3 separate regions of the Homo sapiens genome follow, and regions 1 and 2 are each linked to region 3. Evidence: promoter capture Hi-C in 16 types of primary human blood cells and fetal thymus (Javierre and others, 2016). All regions are on one chromosome and are shown on one strand. Each heading gives the region's core, a stretch centred on a gene start or on the middle of the fragment in contact. The rest is flanking DNA. Distances are from core to core; before and after follow the strand shown. Region 1 has its middle 41 kb from the start of LINC02098. Region 2 has its middle 8.3 kb from the start of LINC02098. Region 3 holds the start of KCNJ5 (potassium inwardly rectifying channel subfamily J member 5).

The links. The method cuts DNA at HindIII sites, captures the fragments that hold promoters and counts their contacts. A CHiCAGO score of 5 or more calls a contact.
Region 1: a fragment that was not itself captured here is called in contact with the fragment with the promoter of KCNJ5 in region 3 in 1 of 17 cell types (neutrophils); the score reaches 5.4 in neutrophils.
Region 2: a fragment that was not itself captured here is called in contact with the fragment with the promoter of KCNJ5 in region 3 in 3 of 17 cell types (neutrophils, naive B cells and total B cells); the score reaches 7.2 in neutrophils.

What each region holds. Positions count from the first base shown.
Region 1 is chr11:128,248,247-128,252,156 of GRCh38, forward strand. No RefSeq gene overlaps it. Among named protein-coding and RNA genes, the nearest start is that of LINC02098, 41 kb to the left of the region's middle. The HindIII fragment of the contact is 5,676 bases long and covers 1-3,910 here.
Region 2 is chr11:128,198,687-128,202,316 of GRCh38, forward strand. No RefSeq gene overlaps it. Among named protein-coding and RNA genes, the nearest start is that of LINC02098, 8.3 kb to the right of the region's middle. The HindIII fragment of the contact is 1,158 bases long and covers 1,031-2,188 here.
Region 3 is chr11:128,889,188-128,893,069 of GRCh38, forward strand. KCNJ5 (potassium inwardly rectifying channel subfamily J member 5) reads left to right here and starts at 2,169. Exons shown (of 3, transcript NM_000890.5): 1 at 2,169-2,534. The HindIII fragment of the contact is 6,484 bases long and covers 1-2,677 here.

The sequences.
Region 1 (3,910 bases), core at 996-3,495, 640 kb before region 3:
TAATCAATATATAATAGATTCATATATACTAGTGACATTCATTCAACAGCAATTTAAGGCACTGTAGCTTGGTAGTTTAGAATTTGGGCTCTGGCACCCGGTTTTTCAAGTTCAAATCTTGTTCAAATCCACTTAATTATTGTGTGACCTTGGCAAGTTACTTCACCTAGCTGGGTCGTGATTTCCTCATGTGTGAAATAGATATAATGACATTAGCTACCCAAAAGGGGTCGTAAGAGATTTTAATAAGTTAATCCCCGAAAAAATTCTTTAGAAAACTCTAGCATATGGTTAGAGCTTGATCAACATTAACAGTTATGTGCTCCATCTGGGCAATGCTAGAGTTATGGTCTAGTGAGGGAGACAAGCACTAAAATGGGGTGAAGAAGGTGAAATAAGTGGTAAAGTAGTAGGTGCCACTCATAGAGGAAGGAGATGAGGAGCTTTCTTTCCAGCCCCAGACTCTTTTACAAGAGAGTTCAAGATAGGATTCCTATTTACTGAGAAGTATAGTTACCACTGAGTTGACATCAAGAACCAATATTATTATCAACTTTCTCTATTTTTTATTTGATTTTACATCAATCTGAGGATGTAATTGGCTTGATTCTCACCCAAAGTTAGTAGGTTTTGAGAGAAGAGGGATTTGGGTACTTAAAGTATCACCCGATAGATTTACTGCTTCCACAACAAACCCTACATGTAAAGCTGCTACAAAAAGAATTTTATGTAGTGTCGTCTCTAAAGGTTTTAATCTAATTTTAGGTTGGCATTAAATTTGAAGCCTAAATATTTTATTAAGGAGACTCTCCACAACCTTAATTCAGCTTTTGGTTGGAACTTGGGTTGGATTCTAGAAAGCCTCTTTCTCTCAAATAAAAAGCTCATAGGTCAGGTTTCTATAAATAAATGTCATTTTATTTTCATTCACTCAGTTTCCCAACTAACTCAGATATAATTTCTGATATAATTTCACTTATTGATAATCTCAATCCCCTTCTTAGACCCTGCTCACTTTAACCTGCAGATGTTCCAGAGGGTAAAGGGTGCAAAGGTGTACAGATGAAAAACAAAATATTTTTTTCAGTCCCAGGGCCTGTTTTAGCACCTGTTTGGCACCTTCTCCCAGAACTCATATTTACCCAAGACTTAATAAAATAAATCTAGTTCTTCACCATAAAGTCTATAGAACTTTGAAACTCCATATACTTTAAAAGAATCTCATAACAAAGGACAAAATGTCCTTGAAGAAATAGTAGTTGCTTAATAAGTTCTTCAAAGGAAAACCTTCCATATAATCTTTTTTTTTTAATTAAGAAGGAGCAAAGTTAAAAAAAAAACCCTCCCATATAATGAAAGGAAAAAATACTGGGAAACAAGACCATATTAAATTTGCCCAATGAGGCAGGCTCACAGGGGGAAAAGTAGTGTGCTCAGACCTACTGCTATTGATCATGGTAAGTTTGAAGAAAATGAGATCAGAGAGGGTTAAAAGATTGTTGACTCAAAGAGCAAAGCAGCAATATGACAAGTGCGTTTTGGAAAAGAGACCTGAGTTCAAACCTCATATCTGTCTTTTACTAACTATGTGACCTCGAGTCATTTGCCTAATAAAATGAACTTTATCTTCCCTGTTTGTTCCATGCCACCTGTTTGGCTCCTTGCAATGATTGGCAATTGGTCTCATTAATCTCTGTGAACCATTCCCAGCACATGAGAATTATGAAATGCATGCTACCTGTCCTCATAGGAAATCAACATGTCACAGTAGAAAGAGTACGGCATTGGAATTAGGTAGGTGGAGTTTCAGAGACATGCCATGCGTTGACCTGCTCTGTAATCTTGCACTCAGTTGCCTCTTTTTAAAGAGGGGCTAATAATACCCACCAGGCATGACAGTAATATGAATTAAATCAAATGACACCAGTCTCTGGCTCATAGTATGTATTCAACAGAGGGTAGATATTTTATCACTTCCATGGAACAGAACAGAAGAGAAGTTCCAGTATTACCTCTAACACTGCTTCATTAGGCCCCAACTCAGTGCCCTCCATGGACAACCGAACATGCTCAAATACTCCAGGACAGAAAACCTCAGTCAGCTGGAGAGGTAGGAGAGCTTTATAGAGATGGAAATTTAAGATGATAAAACACTTCACCAGTGGGTGGTAAATATATAGATACCCTATTTCCCAAAATAGCTCTGGGCTTTGGGGTGCCGGGGTAAGCGGGCTACCATCCCACTTCCATAGCTGATAGCAGAGAAATGCCTGCTGGGGACAGAAAAGCTAGAGAAATGTGTTTATCTTCCAAGGAATACTTATAAAATAATTGGTGAGGGGGGTCTTCTAGGGTTACGTCGAATGTATAAACTGTTTATTTTTGCAGCACTGATTGGGAGTGCATGGAGAAGGGCTAATGCACTTGGGTTCAATGTTTACTCCTTCTAAGGGGCTGCACCCAGGGTTCATGAATGTGCAGTCATCCTCTTTCTAAAATAGATATTATTCCCCAGTTTTTCTCCAATGATACCAAGCCATAACATCTCACTCCATTTCCCCTCTTTTTAACCCAGTGGGTACAATTGGAAACCAGCAGCCCATCCCACAAAAAATTTAGGGGAATACTCCCATGTGGGTATCCTAAAAGACTCTCTTGTACTCACTCCCACTAATTGGTTGGAGGAGGGAGTGACTGTTTTCAATCAACTCTGCGTTAACTTGAACTTGTCCCTGCATCGAAACATAATGGGGAGGGTATTTTTTCTCAAAAGATTTATCGTAACTAATTAATCATCATGACCATAAAAATCTGTTCATTTTTGTGAGGCATAGAAATTATGTGAAATCTGTCCAATAATGTTCATAAGAGTAACACTGAATGAACGCTGATTAGGCACCAGGCATCCTTCTGAGTACTTTGTAGAGATTAATTTATAAATTATCACAACAGTTATTCTGTGTGATTTAATATTATTATCCCTATTTATAGATAAGGTAACAGAAGTACAGAGAATTTAACTATCTTGTGCAAGACGCTTAAGAAATGAAAGGAGTAAACTATGAATCTGCAATTTGGAATGCAGGCAAATCAGGTCAGGGCCTGCTATTTAAATCCTGCTGTAGAGGACTGCATTTTTACATTGACCATAGAAATGTATTAGACAGAGGAGCATCTAGAAACACTAGAAATCCTGCAAATCCACAAGGTCTAGCTCTCAGCCCTACGAGGAAGGCCCCTCTCCAGGTTTGTTCCTCCCTTGGGTATTGATATTGTTTGGCTGTGTCCCCACCCAAATCTCATCTTGAATTATAGCTCCCATAATTCCCACTTGTGGAAGGTACCCAGCGGGAATTAACTGAATCATGGGGGCAGGTCTTTACCATGCTGTTCTCATGATAGTGAATAAGTTTCACAAGATCCAATGGTTTTTTTAAAGAGGAGTCTGCCCATACAAGCTCTCTTCTCTTGTCTGCTGCCATGTGTGATGCGCCTTTCACCTTCTGCCATGATTGTGAGGCCTCCCCAGCCACTTGGAGCTGTAAGTCCATTAAACTTCTTTCTTTTGTAAATTGCCCAGTCTTGGGTATGTCTTTATCAGCAACATGAAAATGAACTAATACAGGTACACTGCCTCAGTCCTATAGGCAGTAGCTTCTCCCTGGAGCTACTATTTCTGTGTTCTTTAGCCTCTCTTTTCCCTGTACTAGTCAATCCCTTGTCACTCCAGTCTCCTGTTAATCCCCTATTTGTATATATTAAACTGTTACTGTTCAAATCCCTCATGCTTCCTGCCTCCCCAGAGGAATGGCCCCGAAACTTGCTCAGTGCCTCCTGTCCTACTTTTCCCTTTGCATCCGCTTCAGCTGCTCTTGACTCCTCGCTGTTCCTCTGGTCTTCCATCTGTGTT
Region 2 (3,630 bases), core at 360-2,859, 690 kb before region 3:
GACTTTTGCTGCTATTGCTGGTGCCACAAATGATGGGAATGCCTCAGTTTTATAATGTACTTTCCTTAAAGAGTTCAAAGGTCCTTACCAATAAAAGCCATTGGGGGCCAGGCACAGTGGCTCACGCCTGTAATCTCAGCACTCTGGGAGGCCAAGGCAAGTGGATCACCTGAGGTCAGGAGTTCGAGACCAGCCTGACCAATATGGTGAAACCCCGTCTCTACTAAAAATACAAAAAAAAAAAAAAAAAAAAAGTTAGCTGGGCATGGTGGCGCGTGCCTGTAGTCCCAGCTATTCAGGAGGCTGAGACAGGAGAATTGCTTGAACCCAGGAGGCGGAGGTTGCAGTGAGCCGAGATAGTGCCACTGCACACCTGCCTGGGCAACAGAGCAAGACTCCATCTCAGAAATAAATAAATAAATAAATAAATAAATAAATAAATAAATAAATGTTGTTGGGGAAAGTGTATACCACATCTTTTCTCATGTCCAGGCATCATGGGTGACATGGCACGGCAGACTTCCATGACATCAATCTAAAAATGACTGGAATATGGTATCCCACACTTGATGAGTGATGAAATGTTAACAACTCTAATAGCTCATATATACTCAGTGTTTATTATATGTCAGGCACTTTATGTTATCTAATTTTCACAAAGTTCTATGATCTATTGTTATATTAAACTCATTTTACAGATAAGGACACTGGGGACAGTTAAATTTTAAATAACTGACCAGAGGTTGTATGGTCAAGACCGTACCAGAGATTCACACTCAGGCCTGATCCTGAAACCTCTGTGCTCTTAACCACTTTGCAGTATTAAGTCCTTTGTTTCTTACATTTTATTAGGATATGTTCAAGACATATTGCAAACAATCAGAAAGTTGGAAGAGCAGAATGGCAGGTCCTTACATTGCTCAGTGTCAATATTAACATTCACTAGGCCAATAGACATTGCTGAGCATTTACTAAGTGCCAACTAGGAGCTCAGGATATGGATATAAGTGTTCAGAAAATAATATGACAAAGCTTAAACAAGGAATGCCCTATTATTTAGTCATTAAGAGAACAGAAGTAGACAGACAGGCAAGCTGCTAGGAAAACTCAGCTAAACCATACTAATTTTGCTTGAAACTGGAAGACAAAATTTGGTGAAGAATTGGTCTCTATGTGAAATACGCTGATCTGTGCCAAGAATCTGGTCTCTACCACATAGTTTCAAATGATCCCACTGAAGAGAAACTCATGATGGACATTGGGGAAATTTCTCAATGAAGACTTCTGTGTTCTCTGCCTCTTAAAAGTGAGTTGAAGGGAGTGAGGATGATGACATTTTGCAGGGTGATTTTTTTGCTCTCTCACTGTCAATACCCATTCTCATATCATTCTCTTTTAAATTAAGTAGATAAAATTTAGGCCATTTTGCTGCACACTTGAATGCATGTAGTGAGCCGAGACTCCATCAAAATGAAATCAGCCAAACACAGCAACAACAGTGCATGAGAGTGGAAGGTTGGGATGGATCGATATGCTTAGGAAAGCCTAGGAGACCTGCCTGAGCCACTCTCATTTCTGCAACACCTCCTGAATCACTGGAGGACTTGGGACATTCAGTGAGATCAAAACCTGCCTTTTAGCCTTTGGGCAATGTCATGCTCACAAGGCTTGAAAAGTAGACATAGATCTCCCTGCCAACAGCTGACAAGGGACTCAATCTTCCTCACAGCTGCTGTTGATCCATTGCATACAGTTTATGACAACATCTATGGGCAGGGGGAGGCTTTCCAATACATCTCCCATTGTCCAGAGCTGCTCCTGAAATCCGGCGCATGCAGAGCTGGGACTCATCTCACCATATTGTCTACTCATGAAATTATTAACAACAACCTCCTGTGGTTGGTGTTTGGCAGGGAGATCTTGTTTCACACGTGGCTGGCATATATTTGGCCAACAAACCCACAGTTCACCCCACAAATAGACAAGTGATCTCAATTATCCACTGGCTGAAAGTACAATATGTCTCAGAGCCTCCTCTCTAGCCCATGGTTGGTTGATCCATGGACAAGGGTCTTGCTAAAAAAGCAAAAACATAGGTGTCAAGTCTTGGCAAGATTCCAAACTAAGGTCATCAATGGCAAGGTTTTCTGTGAGAATACGGCTCTAACCAGTGCAAGATAGTTCAATAAGCTTGTGAAAACGTTATGTTAGGTTTGGAAGACAGACGAACGGAAGGCCGCAGTGTTCGTTATAGCATTGGTCTCTCAAACTCTCTCAGCATTTCTTTTTCAACATCTCATTAAAGTCTCTATTCAGGGACCACCTTGAATATGCAATGAAGAAACAAACAGAAAGCGTTTATATTTTTTCCAGATATGTTAGAAACCACTAGACACAGCAGGTAAAGGACTTGTTTTTCAACTGTTTTCAAATCTGTGGTCTCATTCCGCCTTGCTCCTAACAGCACCAAGAGGGACTGCTACAGTTCTGTATTTTATCTCACAAGATGAATCAAACGTCTCAGGCACCCGTCACCACTATTGTGAGGTTTTGAAAAGTGACACATTACTTTCCTAATTCAATTCATATGAAAACTTGCAGAGATAAAGTTTACCTAGTAGTTATATTAAATGAATGGAAAGCAGATAGCCCTGTGTACAAAATAGCATGCTGCTGCTGGTAAGAGTCAGCGGAAAGTTCTGACCCTCACTCACCACACACCTATCCCCAAGCTCCTGCTAATGTACATATTGCCAAATCTCAGCAACTTAATATAGTTAAATTCCCTATAATATAATAATTAAGTTCCTTGTAATGTATTTTTCTTTGTTTCTTCTTTAGTGCAAGTACCTAACCACCATTCTTTACACAATATAGTTAGGACAACCTGGAATAAAGCTTGAAGGCCCCACTGAATTAAGCAAATGTAAAGCAAATTGATGCTCAATGTCCTGGAAGAACAATGCACAAAGGCCTCCCACCTAGTTAGTTTGTATATTACCTTGGATACAGTCAGAAGACAGAAATCATATAGCAATTTGCACTGCGAATTTTAGCAAAGTATTAACTGGTAGTAGAAGATTAGCTACTAAGAAAGGAAGAAGGAAAATTCTGAAGAATATTCTAAGGCTGAGGTAGAGCACCCCCTCCCCAGGAAGGAACAAACTAGGAAGGAGAATCCCATCTCCGAGGCTGGGTTTCAGAGCCTGTTTTTGAGGGTGTGGCCAAAGCCTGTGGGATGGGGGGAAAGTTTGCTGGGGTGTTCCAGACCAGAGGTGATGCCAGTTGCCAGGCCAACTGTAGTGGGTAGAAAACAACAAGCAGGAAATAATCTCCTGAGTTGGCAGCTGGCTGGTGCTTGTGGGCAGGGAATCATTGGCCTGGGTCTGGCAACTTGAACGTGCCCCACACGGCTGGCCATGGAGAAGGCTGAGAACAGACACTCCCGCAACACTCTCCAGTGGAAAAGTAGAAACATTGACATGATCCAGCTCCAGCATCACAAGCTGTCAATGAAGGTGGATTTGATGACTGTTGAGAAACAATAATCTGACAACTGGCATTGTTGGAGTTTTGTGTTTGTTTACTTGCCTGTTGTTTGCTTGTTTTGGACGAGTTGGAAAATACTAC
Region 3 (3,882 bases), core at 919-3,418:
TATTCTAAAGAGAACATCTTTAATTGTGAACCCATCTCCCGCTCGATGAAAGAAGGTAAGAGAAGCAGATAAAGAGAACAGAAGAAGTGAGGCTGTACTCTAATTAACAGTGATAATACATACACATTTTCTGTTGCTTTCAAGCACCGCCTCAGCAATTTTCAGACAATGAAAGACATACTTAGCACCTTGTACCGCTCCCTGAGTAGTTCTTTTATTGCATTGCTATCCTCAGATGTTGTCTGTGCTCTTTGAGAGGCTTGGGCCTCTCAAAGCTCCTCCAAGTTGCAACAATTGCTCAGGACTAGAATCCCCAAATTTCGCGTTTTTCAGTTCTCAGGTGAGACCTGGACACAAATTTTTCTGTCTCCCGATCCAAGGTCCCATCACTGAGAAAATCTTTGCAAAACAGTATTTCCCAGAGCACCCTATATTTTGCTTTAAAGTCAGTCCAGGTCCCCTGACCCCCACCCCGTAATGGCAAAAGGAATATCATGGTCTTTATACCTAATCCAAAAGCAACTGCTGCCCCAGGACAGAGCCCCTCCTCAGGGCTCAGCAGATGATTATAGTGTGTGTTATCTGGACCTGAGAACTGCACAGCCAAAGCCTCTCCCAAGAACTAGGCAATTAGGGAATTAAGAACTTTCTCCACAATAGTGTTAAGCCCTGAGGTCAAACAACATATGGTGCAGTGCGTGAGCACCTAGGCAAGCTGAGTCCCCTAAGGGGACACAGAGCTTTCCTGTTAGGGCCTGTTGCAGCCACATTTAACAATCACCCCCTCTACAGAGAGAAGAGGGGCAATCAGGAGGCCCACTCTGGCCGGACCGCTCTGTGCTCTGTCCCAGGGGAGGGTGCCTGGGCAACGGGCTGTGTGTACGCTGGTCTCCGAGGCAAGAGGACCCCCAGGCCACTGTTAGAGACTAAGTTTCCCTGTCACTGTCCTTACAGGAGAGGATGGACTTGGTGCCCTCCAGTATTAGTGACAAGCATTTTTCTCATTGCAACGTAATAAACCAGTTTTCTGGTCGTAGACATCATTCACCTAGCACTTGTGCTAGGTGCTAGGGCACCCCACGTTTGACCAGCTGTGTCTGCCCTGAGAGAGGGGGCTGGCAGGGGGGGTGTTGACCCCAAAAGGCTGGGTAACGGAGAGGGGCCAGAAGGAACACCACCGGGTGAGAAGGGCCACCCCGAACAGACCGGTCCTCAGAGGCACCTGCCGGCCCTCCCCAGACAGCAGCCCTCCCTTTCAGCCTGCCCTGGCAGCTGCCTTTCCTACGGCTTCCACGAATTAAAGAACACACTCTGGTCATCATCTGTCCTCAAGGCAGGTAGGAATCCAAAAGGGAGAGCCGGGAGGTGGCGCGGAGGACGCCGGCTCTGCCCACGCCTGGGCAAGGTTGAGCTCCGTTCCCTCCGGGCTGCTCCCGCCTCCTGTCCGTGCAGGGCGCGTTTCCAGCCATCGCCGCCCAGCCGCCGCCGCACGCCGGGGAGAGATCGTCCGGGGTGAGCAGCGAGCCCGGGGACAGCTAGCCTGGGTCCTGTCCCTGGACCTACTCCCCCTGCAGCTGGCGGATCAGGCCCCCGGACCCTCACTCCACGGCGGGAATCAGAGCCGTCGGGCGGGGGATGCAGCGCCCAGACTGTGGCTCCCCCGCCTTCCCAAAGGAATCCCCCCATCTGCTCCATCCCTCTCGGGAAACGGCGAAATGCTGCCAACCGTCCGCTTAGCGCACCGCGGAGCGACTGAGCAGCCCCGCCGAGGCTCCGAGCCAAGATTTCTGCCCTAATAGTTTCTCCCTTCTTTCTGTCTGCTCCACCGCACCCACTAAATACGCGGCGCTCACACACGGACACGCGTGACACGCGGCGCTCACACACAGGCATGGGACGCTCACACGCGCGCGCGCGGGTCTCCGTCCCTGGCACCCCGCAGCAGGGGTGCAGCCGGGGGCAGGGGGAGCCGGGGGAGGGCGCAGGGGGCCGCGGGGACGCGAGCGGAGGGCTGGATGCCTGCCGGGCTCTCTCTCCGCCTTCCTCTTCCCTCCCAGTCCTGCCGAGCTGACGGCGTCCCGGATCACATGGAGCCCCCGCCCCACCCCAGCCCGCCCCCCGCCGCCAACGCCGGTGGCCCTTCCAGTCGCGTTACTACCCAGAGATTCATTTGTACCAGGGACGGAGGGAGAGAGGAGAGGGAGGAGGGGACACACACACACACACACACACACACACACACACACACACACACAGAGAGAGAGAGAGAGAGAGAGAGAGAGAGAGAGATTGTTCCAGCTGCTCTCGCTAGAGAAAGGGAGTGACCCAAGGGGCCGCGAGTGAAGGGACAGGATGGCTTAGGTACCTCTGCCCACAGGACCCCACAACAGGGAGAGGTTCCAGCTACAGCTCCTCCGTGGGGTCATGGCAGGGGCTGGGGAGTCCCCTCAAAAGCCCTGAGCCCCCCTGCACCGCCGCTAAGGGACACCCCAGAAGTTAGCATCAGTGGGACTCGGAAGCTCCGATCTCAACAAGTAAGTTGTCTTCTTTTCCTCCTCCATTTCTCCCCCAGCTCGCGGGTTCTGGAGGGCAGGATGACACCCTCAGGTGTCCATCACCTGGGCAGCAGGCTTTCACAGGGAACCTGCTAGACTGGGAGCCAGGGGGGATAAGGAAAAGCTTAGGGCAGGTCCAAGTTTAGGAAATTGGAGATCTCCGTGGCTGCAGGCTGCCCTGTGCGTTGGGAGCCCAGCCATAAACACCTTCACTTCTGGCACTAGACCAGGGCTACCTGGGGGTGCCCCAGATCTCCCAGCAGTGGTTTGAGAGGCAACAGTGGCCAGGAGTGGGTGGGGTGTGGAGGACATTTTTCACCTGGTAGGACTCTTCCTTCAAATGGGAGCAGGGAGGGCCAGGATGGGGGGCGGTGCCCCCCTCAGCCTTAGATCCCCAGCCTAATCTTGCTTTCTCTTTTAAGTGTGGCCAAACTGGAAACACGGCCTTGTGATTTCTGCCCCCCTCGCTGCCCAAGTCACTTCCTGCGTACCTCCCTATCTCCTTTTAAAGAGCTTTCAAATGGTTCAGAAAGGCCAGGGGTCAAGCCTGTGAGGACAGAGGATAGGGAACAGAGAAGGCCGGCCTTGTCATTGCTCCCCTTCTCTTCAAGTCAGTGCTTCTCCCTGCAGAGCTGTTGGCCCCCTGGTTTTATCTGTGCCTTCCCTCAAACAGGGCTCTCCAACCCCAGGGGCTGTGGAGGGCCTCAGGTCCGGCCCCCAAAGTTCTAGGGCCTACCCTGAACATCAGGGTGAGCAACACCAGCCCAAAACCTGTTCCAGGAGCCTTTTCAAACACCAGAAGAAGATCAACAGGAACACGCCAAGTATTTTACTCTGTTTCAATCCTTTTAATAAGCTGAGATTATCATCCTCATTCTACAGGTGAAAAATTGAAGCCCAGAGAGGCTGTGCAATTTGCCTCAGGTGCACAGCTCATAAAGGGAGATTCTCTCCTATATCTGACTCCAAAATGTGCCTCGTTTTCATCAAAAGCCATATGGTTTATCGGGCTTTCTGGTTCTCAAAGCACTTTTCCATGTGAGGAAAAGGCTAATATTTATGAAACCAAGGTGCCGAGCTATATACGTTTACATGAGTTCATCTTGACACCAGTCCTGTGGGGCAGAGCTTATTTCTTCTGTTTTATAGATGAGAGTAAGGGTAACAGAATTCCAGGCACTAAGTGGCAGCAGCACTGCTATCTCCAAAACTCTTGTCCTCTGGCTTTAAATCCAGGGTCTTTCCACTAACAAAAGCTAATTCTGAAAGCTGCTCTTGTCTTTCCACATCCCTGCTTTTCCTCAAAGCCAGGTGTAAATTGCATCAT